3 separate regions of the Homo sapiens genome follow, and regions 1 and 3 are each linked to region 2. The links are contacts of gene promoters, found by promoter capture Hi-C in human tissues and cell types (Jung and others, 2019). All regions are on one chromosome and are shown on one strand. Each heading gives the region's core, a stretch centred on a gene start or on the middle of the fragment in contact. The rest is flanking DNA. Distances are from core to core; before and after follow the strand shown.

Evidence for each region. Contacts are between HindIII fragments. The study calls those that stand out against the background at their distance.
Region 1: a contact is called between a fragment that was not itself captured here and the fragment with the promoter of IGF1 in region 2, in 1 of the 25 tissues and cell types used here (adrenal gland).
Region 3: a contact is called between a fragment that was not itself captured here and the fragment with the promoter of IGF1 in region 2, in 1 of the 25 tissues and cell types used here (H1 embryonic stem cells).

Annotation. Positions count from the first base shown.
Region 1 is chr12:102,205,667-102,210,305 of GRCh38, reverse strand. It overlaps LOC124902998 (a long non-coding RNA gene), which reads right to left. Exons shown (of 2, transcript XR_007063426.1): 2 at 1-4,639. Among named protein-coding and RNA genes, the nearest start is that of PMCH, 10 kb to the right of the region's middle. The HindIII fragment of the contact is 3,824 bases long and covers 775-4,598 here.
Region 2 is chr12:102,477,844-102,482,201 of GRCh38, reverse strand. It overlaps IGF1 (insulin like growth factor 1), which reads left to right and starts at 1,639. Exons shown (of 4, transcript NM_000618.5): 1 at 1,639-1,883. The coding sequence starts at 1,821. LINC02456 (long intergenic non-protein coding RNA 2456) reads right to left here. Exons shown (of 13, transcript XR_007063427.1): 11 at 1-4,358. RefSeq lists enhancers at 2,784-2,833, 2,924-3,183. The HindIII fragment of the contact is 12,796 bases long and covers 1-4,358 here.
Region 3 is chr12:102,748,169-102,752,593 of GRCh38, reverse strand. No RefSeq gene overlaps it. Among named protein-coding and RNA genes, the nearest start is that of LINC00485, 74 kb to the left of the region's middle. The HindIII fragment of the contact is 3,013 bases long and covers 1-2,967 here.

The DNA.
Region 1 (4,639 bases), core at 1,437-3,936, 270 kb after region 2:
CTGTTAGCACCTTTATGTCCACAAGTACCTGTTTTACTCCCACTTATAAGTGAGAACATGTGGTATTTTGTTTTGTTCCTGTGTTAATTTGCTTAGGATAATGGCTTCCAGCTGTTTCCATGTTGCTAAAAAGGACATAATTTTTTTTCTATGGGTGCATAGTATTCCATGGTGTATAATACCCCATTCTCTTTTTCTAATCTGCTTTTGATGGGCACCTAGATGACTCCATGTCTTTACTATTATGAATAGCATTGTGATGAACATATGAGTACATATGTCTTTTTAGTAGAGCAACTTACTTTCTTTTGGATGCATACCAGTAATAGGATTGCTAGGTCAAATGGTAGTTCTGTTTCAAGTTCTTTGAGAAATCTGCAAACTGCTTTCCACAGGGGCTAAACTAATTTACATTCCCACCAACGGTGTATAAGCATTCCCTTTTCTCTACAGCCTTGCCGGCATCTGTTGATTTTTGACTTTTTAATAATACCCATTTTAACTGGTATAAGAAGGCATCTCATTGTGGTTTTGATTTGCATTTCTCTAGTGATGCTGAACATTTTTAAATGTTTGTTGGCTGCTTGTATGTCTTCTTTTGAGAAGTGTCTCTTCATGTATTTTCTCCATTTTTTAATGGGGCTATTTGTTTTTTGCTTGTTCAACTGTTTGTTTCTTATATATTCTAGATGTTAGACCTTTGTTGGATGCATAGTTTGTGAATATTTTCTCTCATTCTGTAGGTTGTCTTTTTATTCTGTTGATAGTTTATTTTGCTGTGCAGAAGCTCTTTAGTTTATGCAGGTCCCACTTATCAATTTTTGGTTTTGTTGCAATTGCTTTTGAGGACTTAGTAATACGTTCTCTCCTATGACCAATCTCCAGAAAGATGTTTCCTAGGTTTTCTTCTAGAATTCTTATAATTTGTGGTCTTACACTTTAATCCCTCTTGGGTTAATTTTTGTATATGGTGAAATATAGAGGTCTGGTTTCATTCTTTTGCAATGTGACTAGCCAGCTATCCCAGAACCATTTATAGAATAGGGAGTCATTTCCCCATTGACTATTTTTGTCAACTTTGATGAAGGTCAGGTGGCTGTAGGTGTGCAGCTTTATTTCTGGGTTCTCTGTTCTGTTCCACTGGTCTATGTGTTTCTGTTTTTGCACCAGTGCCATGCTGTTTTGTTTACTGTAGCCTTATAGTATAGTTTGAAGTCAGGTAATTTGATGCTTCCAGCTTTGTTTTTTTGTTTAGGATTGCTTTGGCTATTTGGGCTTTCTGTTGTTGTTGTTCCATATAAATTTTAGAATAGTCTTTTCCAGTTTTGTGAAAAATGATATTGATAGCTTGATAGGAATAGCATTGGACTTGTAGATCGCTTTGGACAGTATGACTATTTTAATGATATTGATTCTTCCAATCTGTGAGCGTAGAATAGTTTTCTATTTGTTTGTTTCCATCTGGGATTTCTTTCAGCAGTGTTTTGTAGTTCTCCTTGGGGAGATCTTTTACCTCTTTGGTTATTTGTATCCTAGGCGTGTGTGTGTGTCCATGTGTATTGTAAATGGAATTGCATTCTTGATTTAGCTTTCAGCTTGAATGTTATTGGTGTATAGAAATGCTACAAACTTCTGTATGTTAATTTTGTATCCTCATACTTTACTGAAGCGCTTATGAGTTTCAGGAGCCTTTTGGCAGAGTCTTTAGTTTCCTAAGTATCGAGTTATATCATCAGTGAAGATAGTTCGACTTTTTCTCCTATTCGCATGCCTTTTATTTCTTTCTCTTGCCTGATTGCTCTGGCAAGGACTTCCAGTACTATTTTGAACAGGAGTGGTGAGAGTGGGCATCCTTGTCTTATTCCAATCTCAAGGGGAATGATTCCAGTTATTGTCCATTCAGTATGATGTTGTCTGTAGGTTTGTCAGAGATGGCGCTTATTTTTTGAGGTATGTATCTTCAATGCCTAGTTTTTTGAGGGTTTTTATCATGAAGGGATGTTGGATTTTACTGAAAGCTTTTCCTGTGTCTACTGAGATGATCATATGGTTTTTCTTCTTAATTCTGCATATGTGGTGAATCATATTTATTGATTTTCATATGTTGAGCCAACCTGCATCTCAGAAATGAAACTTACTTGATCATGGTGAAGCAATTTTTTATGTGCTGCTGTATTTGGTTTGCTAGTATTACGTTGAGGAGGTTTGCATCTGTGTTCATCAGGCATATTGTCCTGTAGTTTTCTTTATTCATTTTGAATGTTACCCCTAAAAGAGTCTTGGCAGATGTGACTAAGAATCTTGAGATGAGGAGATAATCCTGGTGGGCCCTAAATGCCATCACATGAATCCTTATAAGAGAGAGGCAGAGGAATATTAGGAACAGACACAAAGAGGAGAAGGTCATTGAAGACAGAGCAGAGGATGCTACCACAAGGCAGTGAATGCCAACAGTCACCAGAAGCTGGAAGAGGCAAGGAAGGGCTCTCCCCTAGAGTCTCTGGAGGAAACACAGTCCTGTCCACGCATTGATTTTGGGCTTTTGTTGCCTTAAGCCATCAAGTTTGTGGTAATTTGTCACAGCAGACCTAGGTAATAAGTAAATACTCTATCATATTCTAGAACCTATCATAGTTTCTACCATCTGTTCTCTTAATGAAAAAATAATTCATACATTTATTACATGTTTATTGAAAGGCTACTATGTGCCAGACTCTGTTCTTGATACTCTGTTCTTGATACCATCTCCCTCACTGGCATTAGAGGAAATGGACAATAAGCATGTAAACAAGTAAGATAATTTTAGACAGAAGCACAGTGAAGAAAATAAAGGAGTGAAAGGAATAGGGAAAGAATGAGTGGGAAGGGGGCTCCTTTAGCTCATAGGGTCAAGGAAGCACTCTCAGAAACCATGATATTTGAGCTGAGCATCACAATAATGAGTGATAAATGCTCAGATAAATAACAGGAGAAAGATGCTCCTGACAAAGAGAATAGCAGGGAAAAAGTCTTGCGTCAGAAATGATCTTGGCATATCATAAAAACAGAAGGCCAATATCACTAGAGAGTGACGAAAGAGGGACAGAGTAGCAAGAAATAAATTTAGCAAGGAATGCATGGTCCAGGCCATGTAGGACATTTGTATCAATTATCTATTACTATAGTAATATGGTGTAACACATGCAAAACTTCAGAGGGTATACAACAATAAATGTTTATGTCTTATGCTTTTTGGGTCAGTTGGGCATCTGCTAGGCAGCTCTACTGACCTCAAGTGGACTTTCTCCAGTGTCTGGTGCTTGAATGGATGTGTGCTGATCGAGGATAGCCTCAGCTATGGCAGTTAGGGTAGCATGGCTCTCCTCCATGTGGCTCTCTCCAGCAGGCTAGCATGGGAATGTTTTCATGGTGGTGGCAGAGGCTCAAGAGGGAATTCCCAATGTGCAAGACCATTTCAAGCCTCTGCTTGCATGATATCTGATAATATCTCATTAGTTAAAGCAAATCACATGCCTGAAACCAGAGTCAAACAGTGGGCAGGTTACCCCACCCACAGTGGGAAGGCATGCCAAAGTTACATGGCATGAATATAGAGAACAATGAAAAAGTGAAACCATGAAGGCAAGCTTATGCAGATATTTAGGGCCTTGATAAATTAATAAATATAAGAAATAATTATATTTAAACAGGATGATAATGTATTACACATGTTGGAGTTCAGACAAGAGGATTTGGCTGTAGTACTCAGAGAAAGCTGCAAAAGGAAGGTCTTGAAGGATATTTTAGATATAGATAGGTGGAGGGACAAGATGAGGGTATTTTAAGAGCAGGGAATATCATAAACAAAGTTATGATGGCAAAAAAGGACTACAAATACATAGAATGAAAAGAATGGCATGTATATCATTATCAAGACACTTTCATCTGATCCAATCTCTATCACAAACAGAAGAAAATGAAGCAGAACAAATGAATCACATGTTCCTCCTACATAGTAAAACCACTACATTTCAAAATGTTTTCAGTCTAGAGTTCTCAATATAAGTAGAAATGTCTGAGGGTTAAAGACATCCATGAGTACAAACATAAATTCCTAACATGTGTTAGAATGAAGACTCAATACACTACTTACCATAATGGTGAAGAAACCTGAAATTATGAATCAATGTATACAAAATAACAAGCTTTGTTGGTAACCCAATGTTGAAAGCTATCATCAGATTGTTATTCTCGAAGCATACTATCAGATGACTCCAAAAGTACTCAGAATCAAAACAATATCCAAGAATCATCTTTACAAGGTAACTGAAAAATTTAGCCATGAACATCATTTCAAGCATGTTCACATAACTTTTTTTTTTTTTAATTGAGATGGAATCTTGCTCTGTCGCCCAGGCTAGAGTGCAGTGGTGCATTCTCAGCTCACTGCAACCTCCACTGTCCGCATTCAAGAGATTCTTGTGCCTCAGCCTCCCGAGTAGCTGGGACTACAGGCACATGCCACCACAGCCGGCTAATTTTGTTTTTTTTACTTTTAGTAGAGACGGGGTTTCACCATATTGGCCAGGTTGGTCTTTAACTCCTGACCTCAGATGATCCATCCTCTTCAGCCTCCCAAAGTGCTGGGATTACAGGTGTG
Region 2 (4,358 bases), core at 390-2,889:
ACATGCCCATCATATGACTGTGAAGTTTTCCTCTTTGTCTCTGACATTCAGCTGAAAGCCCCTGAAGGGACTTGACCATATCTTATTCCTCTTTGTTTTCCTAGGGATGTTGTAGTTGGGCACATAGTAGAGCTCACAAAATGTTGCTGAACATAGTGCACCATTGACACAACATAATTCCAGATTTCTAACTTTGATTTCTGAAAGGTAAACATTGCTACAATGTATTAACCACACAGAAGACTCAAACAAACCCAACCCCCTTCCAAACAAAGCAGGTTTGTTTGTTTTTTGTTAGGGCACCCACTTCTACAAACAAATTTCTGGCCCCAGGATAACACAAAGAGCCAGAGTAGGATTTCAAGCAGAACTGTGTTTTCAGTTGATGTGTCAGTCCCCTGAGAGTCATGTGGAAAAAAAAAAAAAGAAAAAATTCAAGGTCCAGGTTATTTCCACCACTCCTGGGAAACCAGGCCTGGAGAGCTCTCTAGGGAAAGAGGTATGTCTGCTCTGGGCTTTTGCAACCTTATTTTATAATTCACTTTCTTATCTACTGCTTCACAAAACCAAAGGGAAATAGGTACAAACTGTATCGACAAAAGATCAGAACTGAATTCTCAATGGCAAAGGCAAGTGTACATTATAAATAGCAAAACAGCTGGCTTGGACCATGTTGCCGGCCAGTCACCCAGTTGAGGGATTTGAATGACATCATAACCCTCGAGAGGGTATTGCTAGCCAGCTGGTGTTATTTAGAATACACAAAAATCAGAGAAAGAAAACACACTCTGGCACACAGACTCCCTCTGTCATACACACACACACACACACACACACACACACACACACACACAGGTTTGAGTTATATGGAAAATTCAAACAACAGGAAAATTGTTTGCCCCCCAGGTACCCTTCTCCCAGAGTGGTGGGGTGGGGAGGGGACAGTGACAGGCAGCCTAGTAGAAGAATAAAGAAAAATGTTCTATTTCAGTTGGGTTTTACAGCTCGGCATAGTCTTTGCCTCATCGCAGGAGAAAAAGTATGAGACAGTGCCCTAAAGGGACCAATCCAATGCTGCCTGCCCCTCCATAGGTTCTAGGAAATGAGATCACACCTCTCACTTGGCAACTGGGACAAGGGGTCACCCGAGTGCTGTCTTCCAATCTACTTTACCCCAGTCACTTCAGGGTTAAAATTGTAGAGTTTGCTGGAGAGGGTCTTATCGTCCTTTCTTTCTTTTTTTGTTTTAAATAATGCATTTGCTCTAGAATCTAAAATTGCTCTCCCATCCCCCATATTCCTTTAATACTGGTAAGGTGTATTAGCAGACGTTTGTGTCTTCATGCCCAGCAGAAAGTTAATCAGAAAACAGATCCTTATTTTCTATGGCAGCATAAGTATTTTAATGTCTGCGAACCCTGTCACTAACACACATTCTTTTAAGGGAAAAAAATGCTTCTGTGCTCTAGTTTTAAAATGCAAAGGTATGATGTTATTTGTCACCATGCCCAAAAAAGTCCTTACTCAATAACTTTGCCAGAAGAGGGAGAGAGAGAGAAGGCAAATGTTCCCCCAGCTGTTTCCTGTCTACAGTGTCTGTGTTTTGTAGATAAATGTGAGGATTTTCTCTAAATCCCTCTTCTGTTTGCTAAATCTCACTGTCACTGCTAAATTCAGAGCAGATAGAGCCTGCGCAATGGAATAAAGTCCTCAAAATTGAAATGTGACATTGCTCTCAACATCTCCCATCTCTCTGGATTTCTTTTTGCTTCATTATTCCTGCTAACCAATTCATTTTCAGACTTTGTACTTCAGAAGCAATGGGAAAAATCAGCAGTCTTCCAACCCAATTATTTAAGTGCTGCTTTTGTGATTTCTTGAAGGTAAATATTTCTTACTCTTTGAAGTCATTGGGGAATTCTATTTAAATTGTGTACTGTTTGCTTCTGCCTAGAACTGTTCTTCACTTTAAAATTTTCATTGTTTCGGAACCGAGAGTTATTTATAAATTGCTGAATATGCAATTCTGTGGAATCTGAAAAATAGCTCGGGGAGATGGATGCATTTGCACAGATATCTGTATGAGTAGAAACTATTGCAAGGTACTTATGCTAAATCCTCCACTTCTGCAGGGCTTCCGTGGTGTCATTACAGAAGATTCCTTTAAATCCTCTCTATGGCTAAGGGCTATAGAGCATGGATATGAACTTGGGGATTTTTTTTTTCTTTTGCAGGTGCAGATGTTTTATTTTTAAGACCATGTTCTTTTGCATGTGTGTATGTGTCTCTGTGTGTATGTGTCTCTGTGTGTGTAACTCATCAGGACTTTATTTACAAGGCATGCTATATATGAAGGGTTGTATTTTAGATGATATTAAAGCTTTTAAATATGATCTTTGGAGCTAAGGTCCCGGAACTCTGCACTTATGCCCAGAGAGAGTGTTAAAGTTAGAGTAAAGTGTAATTTGTTCTTCCAAAAAAGAACTCCTTGACAACTCTTGCTGACCTTGCATATTTGTATAATTTAAACAAATACATACTGTATATGGAAAGCAGAAACTTTCTAAGAGCTGCTTGCCCAACTTTTCTGTTTAGAAGAGGACTTTCATGGGCAAAGTTTGGACTTGGGGTTCTGTGTTATAAAACTCTGATTTTATATTCAGTGTCGTGAAGTCCCTTTAGGTAAATCTGGCTGCTGCTGTCAGTGCACCGACTTCTCGTTTCCGATTGCTGGCCGTAGTTCTAGTTTCCATTCTCAGCAAAATTATATCCTTCAAGACTTGTGTTTTTTTTTCAATTTGCAAGCGCTTTTAAGCTGCTGTCACTGGCTCCACCGATTCAATTGCCTGAGGGCTCAATTCATAAGACGTCTCTGCCACTTAGTGCAGCATTCAGTTGCTGCTTTCAAACACTTCACCACTACGACTTTCCCTAGTCAAGTAAGTGGCTCCAGGAGTTAAAGATACACCCTTGTCAGGCACCTGATTCTGCTGTTCCTGAGATGCCAACACATGCAGGCCACCTTGCTTTCAAAGAAATGACGTCACTGTGCATACATACTATGTGATCTAGCAGCTGGAGTTTTTGTCTCCTTACTTAGGGGATCATAAAAGAGGCTGTGGAGCGTTATCTCTGCATTAATTACAAGTTAAGAAAATTGTTTCCAAATGCACTTTTCATGCTGTGTATGCTGAACACTTCAGAAGTGGAGCTCTTAATAAGTTGTTACTTTTTTCTGTACTTGAAGCAGGAAGTGGTTTGAGGGAGCTGCGTGGTCTTTCACATGTAATTCAGTGGGTAAAGGTGTCCTGCCCAGAGGCAGAGCTCACCAGCTGATTGTACTCTGACTCTCAAGGTATTTCCAAGTGAGTGAGTCGGGGGAAGGGAGTAAGGGAGTGGACTGGAGCTTGGGTCACTATCTGGGCTGCTACAATAGGCATACAATGGAAATAGGTGGCTTGACTGGGGGGAAAAGATTGACTTAAATCCCAGCTGTGCAATTTGTTCATTGTTTCAATGGACAAAAGGCAGTTTACCCAGGCTCATAATAGCATACCTGCCTGGGTGTCCAAATGTAACTAGATGCTTTCACAAACCCCACCCACAAAGCAGCACATGTTTTTAAGACTTCAGTTTTCTATTCACATCGGCCTCATAATACCCACCCTGACCTGCTGTAAAAGACCTGGAACAAACAAAAATGATTACACCTACAGTGAGTATTTTCTTATGACTGTTGCCCTCAAATTTTACAGGGCATTTTCATTGTGGCCCAGACATCTGGAATCAATTAATATTCCATTTATCTAAGATTAAAAAAAAAAGAACTTTTAAAATTTGGGTTTGTGAATGATTTTTGAGAAAGTGTTTTCTGATTTTTTTTTCTTTTTTTCTCATGTCTTTCTGATTCTTCCCTTTTTTTTCTATCATATCTTTCCTTTCTCTCTATTGATTTCTTTTGTGTTTGGCAAAATAAAAGGCCAAGGAAATAATGAACATATGGGACCACTTGTTTCACACTTTAAACTCCTAAGCAAGTTCGGTATTGTTTTCATTTGTGGGAACATAAAATTCTCTGGTTCTCTGTGGGTGTACTGGACTGTTCCCTACACTAAAGGAAAATGCACTAGAGGTTCTGTCTTGTCCTAGAACTGTAAGTACTGAGATTTATCTGACAATATAACTCAGCAAAAAAAAAAAAAAAGAAAAAGAGAAATCTATTTAAAAAAAATCTTAAATTCTTAAGTTCCAGAGACTTATATGTATCGCTGCACTTAAATGTGTTATACTAGAACTATTAAAAATATAGTTTTGACATCTAATGAAGTTTGAAATTCACTAAGGCTATAACTTGAGTA
Region 3 (4,425 bases), core at 212-2,711, 270 kb before region 2:
TTTAGAACTCTCTCATTCTGCAGGGCTGAGCTCCATCCCCTAACCAGGCCCCCTGCAACCTCCCGACCCCTACCAGCCAAGCCTTCTTTGATTACATCACCCCTCATTTATTGCCTGCTCTTTGCAATTTCTATAGCACTTTCAGTGTTTTTCAGACTTTTCTGAAGTACTTGTAAAATTACAAATTACTAGGCCCCATCCCGGGAGAGAGTCCTTGGAAGTGTTTTGGTTTACAAATACGCCAGGTGATTGTGATCATTGGGGATATCTGATGAATATCCAATGCCACAGAATTTAAGAGAAATAGATAAAAGTAGTCCCAAATTATGACCACCCCAGTTAAGAACTGGGTTCTTAATATGACTGGTTACTTACTCAGTTCCACCAAATATCCTCCTCCTGCCACTCTCACACCTTCCCTAGACCTAGCCCCAAGAACTGCAGAAGATGCAGATCCTAGAGACTTCACCTATGAACCAACCCATTGGAAAGTAAATAATGCAGCCTTGCTACTCAAAGTGTGGTCCCTGGACCGCAGCATCAGTACCACCTGGAAACTTGCTAAAAAGGCAGAACCTCGGGTCCATTCCAGATTTACTGAACCAGCATCTGAAGTTCATCAAGATCTCCAGGTGATTAATATCTATATTAACATTTGAGAAGCACTACTTTATTATGTGTTTGCAGAGAACTACTAGATGGTCTGGGGATCCCTGAGCAACATAGAAATGGCATGAGCTTTGGAATCAGACAGTCATTAGTTTGAATCTCAGTTGTGTGGCTGGCATGAGCTTCGGAATAAAATGGTCTTTAGTTTGAGTCCCAGCTGTGTGGCTGACAGGAAAGTTACTTAATTTCCATATCATCAAAAGTCATCGGCAAAATGGGGCTAATAATTTCTACCACATGGGGATGTCTTAAAAGTTAATGAGGTAACCTAAGTAAAGTACCTGCTTCACAATAGGTGCTCACTCACTGATGGCAATTTGCTTTACATAGTGCCTGGCACACGACAAGTGCTCAAAATGCTATTACAGCTGCTGGTCTCAGAGGAGGTGGTCTAGATATTATTGTTATTATTACTATTATTTTATTTTGAGACGGAGTCTTGCTATGTCACCCAGGCTGGAGTACAGCGGCATGATCTCAGCTCACTACAGCTCCCAGGTTCAAGTGACTCTCCTGCCTCAGCCTCCGGAGTAGCTGGGATTACAGGCACCGGCCACCACACCCAGCTAATTTTTTTTATTTTTATTTTTAGGAAAGACAGGGTTTTGCCATGTTGGCCAGGCTGGTCTTGAACTCCTGACCTCAAGCAATCCACCTGTCTCACCCTCCCAAAGTGCTGGGATTACAGGCATGAACCACTGCATGGCCGATAATATCATTATTATTAACCTGAAAGTGTTTACAATCTAGGAACAAAGTAAACACATAAAAAGTTGAAAAAAGATTATTATTACAAGAGACTCCATCCCCAAGTTGCAGGTCCTATAAGAATTAGGATTCTAAGAAAGTAAGCATTAAATATATTTCAGAGCAGAGCAACTAACATATCTAAGCCTTTAGTTTATGGTACGCATAGATTTAACTATCTTATTCCATACACCCAACTATAAATTAGACAGGTACTATTATGATTGCTCCCATTTTACCACTGAAACAATTGAACTTCACAAGGTTAAGTAACTTGTCCAAAGTCACTTGAATATTAAGTGGTGAAGCCAAGTCTCCAGAACACAGACCTTTTTTTTTTTTTTTTTTTTTTTTTTTTTTTTGTGGACAAGTTCTCACTCTGATGCCCAGGCTGGAGTGCAGTGGTGCCATCATGCTCACTGCAGCCTCAACTTCCTGGGCTCAGGTGATTCTCCTAACTCAGCCTTTGAGTAGCTGGGACTACAGGCACATGCCACCATGCTGGGCTAATTTTTGTATTTTTTTATAGAGGTGAGATCTCACTATGTTGCCCAGGCTGGTCTCAAACTCCTGGGCTTAAGTGATCCTCCTGCCTCAGCCTCCCAAAGTGCTGGGATCATAGGCATGAGCCACCGTGCCTGGCCAAAACACAAACTTGTAATGCTGAACAATTTTCTTCAAGTGATTCTTCAAAAGTGAGAGAAGCCACTATAGCTGGAGTGAGTTAGGAGACTTCTCTGAGGAGACTAGGATTCATCAGAGCAGTACAGACTGTATAGAATTTGACAGAGAGGTATTCAAGAGAGATACATTCTTATAACACTGGCAACATCTTGGATACAAGATTATGTCATAGTTCACAAAGTGCATTCACAAACTTTCATTCAGGGCTACGAAGATAGAATATAAATCATCCCTGTCTTGATGATCTTAACATCTATAGCTTTTAATTTATTCTTCAGCTACCAAAGGAGCTTGGTATTAGCTTCATTATGCAGATAAGAAAAAGAGAAGTTTAAGTGGCTCATGTATGATAATAGCAATAATAGGTGATGATCCTGGAAGCTGAACTCAGATCTCCAGAATCTAAGTCTAAGGTAATTTTATTATTTGCCCCTTTAGGAAAAGAGATAGATGCTAGGATAACCAACCGTCATGGTTTTTTCAGAATAGAAGATTTTCTCAGGATGCAGGACTTACAGGAAAGTCCTGGGTAAACCACGGCAAGCTGTCCACCCCAATGGAAGCTTAAGCCCCAAATGCATGCTTGAGAAACAACCCCTTTGGTTGAACCAAAGTGTTTATTGTGCTAAGGTAGAAATGCTGCTGTCACCAGTAAAAGATCCAGTACTCCACACTGTGTCCATTACCTACTCACTTCTTAGTTCTCAGCAATGCAGTGGCTACAGAACAGGCCTTCCTTCTTTGAGCACAGACTGCACTCCAAATTTTTATCTCTGTACTTACTTCTTCCCTCAGAACTTGCTGCTGCTATTGTGTGTGTGTGTGTGTGTGTGTGTGTGTGTGTGTGTGTGTATGTGTGTGTGTGTGTGTTGTGGTGTAGACCAGTGCTTCTCAACCTTTAATGTACATACAAATCATGTGGGGATCTTGTTAAAAAGCAGATTCTGATTCATTAGGGTTGAGTTAAAGTCCAAGACTCTGCATTTCCAATAAGCTCTCTGATGTGAAGGTTGCTGGCCATGGACTACACTTTGTAGAAGAAAGAACACCCGTTTTTGCAAAAGGAAACAGGAGCCCTTAGCCTTAAACAGCATTTAAATTGGTTGAATCCAAATAAATAGTTGATTTCCCTCTACCCTGAGACCTTCCCCTGGTGTCTGACAAGTACAAGCTTGCTCTCAAATAATCTGGATTAAAACCTACCACTGGCTAACTGGGTTACCTTAGGCAAATTATCTAATTTCTCTAAGATTCAGGTTCCCCACTGGTCAGGTCAGGTTGTTATTCTACTCACAGTCTTATTGTGAAGAATAAAGATAATGGCTACTGAGTATACACCACATTCCCAAATAAACACACATTATCTTTATTCTTCACGAAAAGACTGTGATCCGTTGATATGGTTTGGCTGTGTCCCCACCAAAATGTCACCTTGAATTGTAATAACTCCCATGTGTCAAGGATGGGGCCAGGTGGAGGTAATCGAATCATGGGGACAGTTTCCCTCATACTTTTCTTGTGGTAGTGAAAAAGTCTCATGAGACCTGATGCTTTTACAAATGGGAGTTCCCCTACACAAGTCCTCCTGCCTGCTGCCATGTAAGGCATGACTTTGCTACTCATTCACCTTCCACCATGATTGTGAGGCCTCCCAGCCATGTGGAACCATGAGTCAATTAAACATCTTTCCGTTGTAAATTACCCAGTCTCAGGTGTGTCTTTATTAACAGTGTGAGAACAGACTAACACATTCATGTTACTGTTAAAAGTTTCCCTTGCTGGAATGCTTATACACTGCTGGTGGGAAAGTAAATTAGGTCAGTCAATGTGGAAAGCAGTGTAGTGATTACTTGAAGAACTTAAAACAGAATTACCATTCTAACCAGAAATCCCATTATTGGGTGGATACCCAAAGGAATACAAATCATTCTAACATAAAAACACATGCATATGTATGTACATTGCAGCACTATTCAGTATAGTAAAGACATGTAATCAACCTAAATGCCCATCAACAGTAGACTGGATAAAGAAAATGTAGTATATACACACTGTGGAATACTCCGCGGCCATGAAAAATAATAAGATTGGCCTAGCGCAGTGGCTCACGCCTGTAATCCCAGCACTTTGGGAGGCCAAGGCAGGTAGATCATGAGGTCAGGAGTTCGAGACAAGCCTGGCCAACATGGTGAAAACCCCATCTCTACTAAAAATACAAAAATTAGCTGAGTGTGGTGGTGGGCGCCTGTAATCACAGTTACTTGGGAGGCTGAGGCAGGAGAATTGTTTGAACCCAGGAGGCAGAGGTTGCAGTGAGCCGAGATC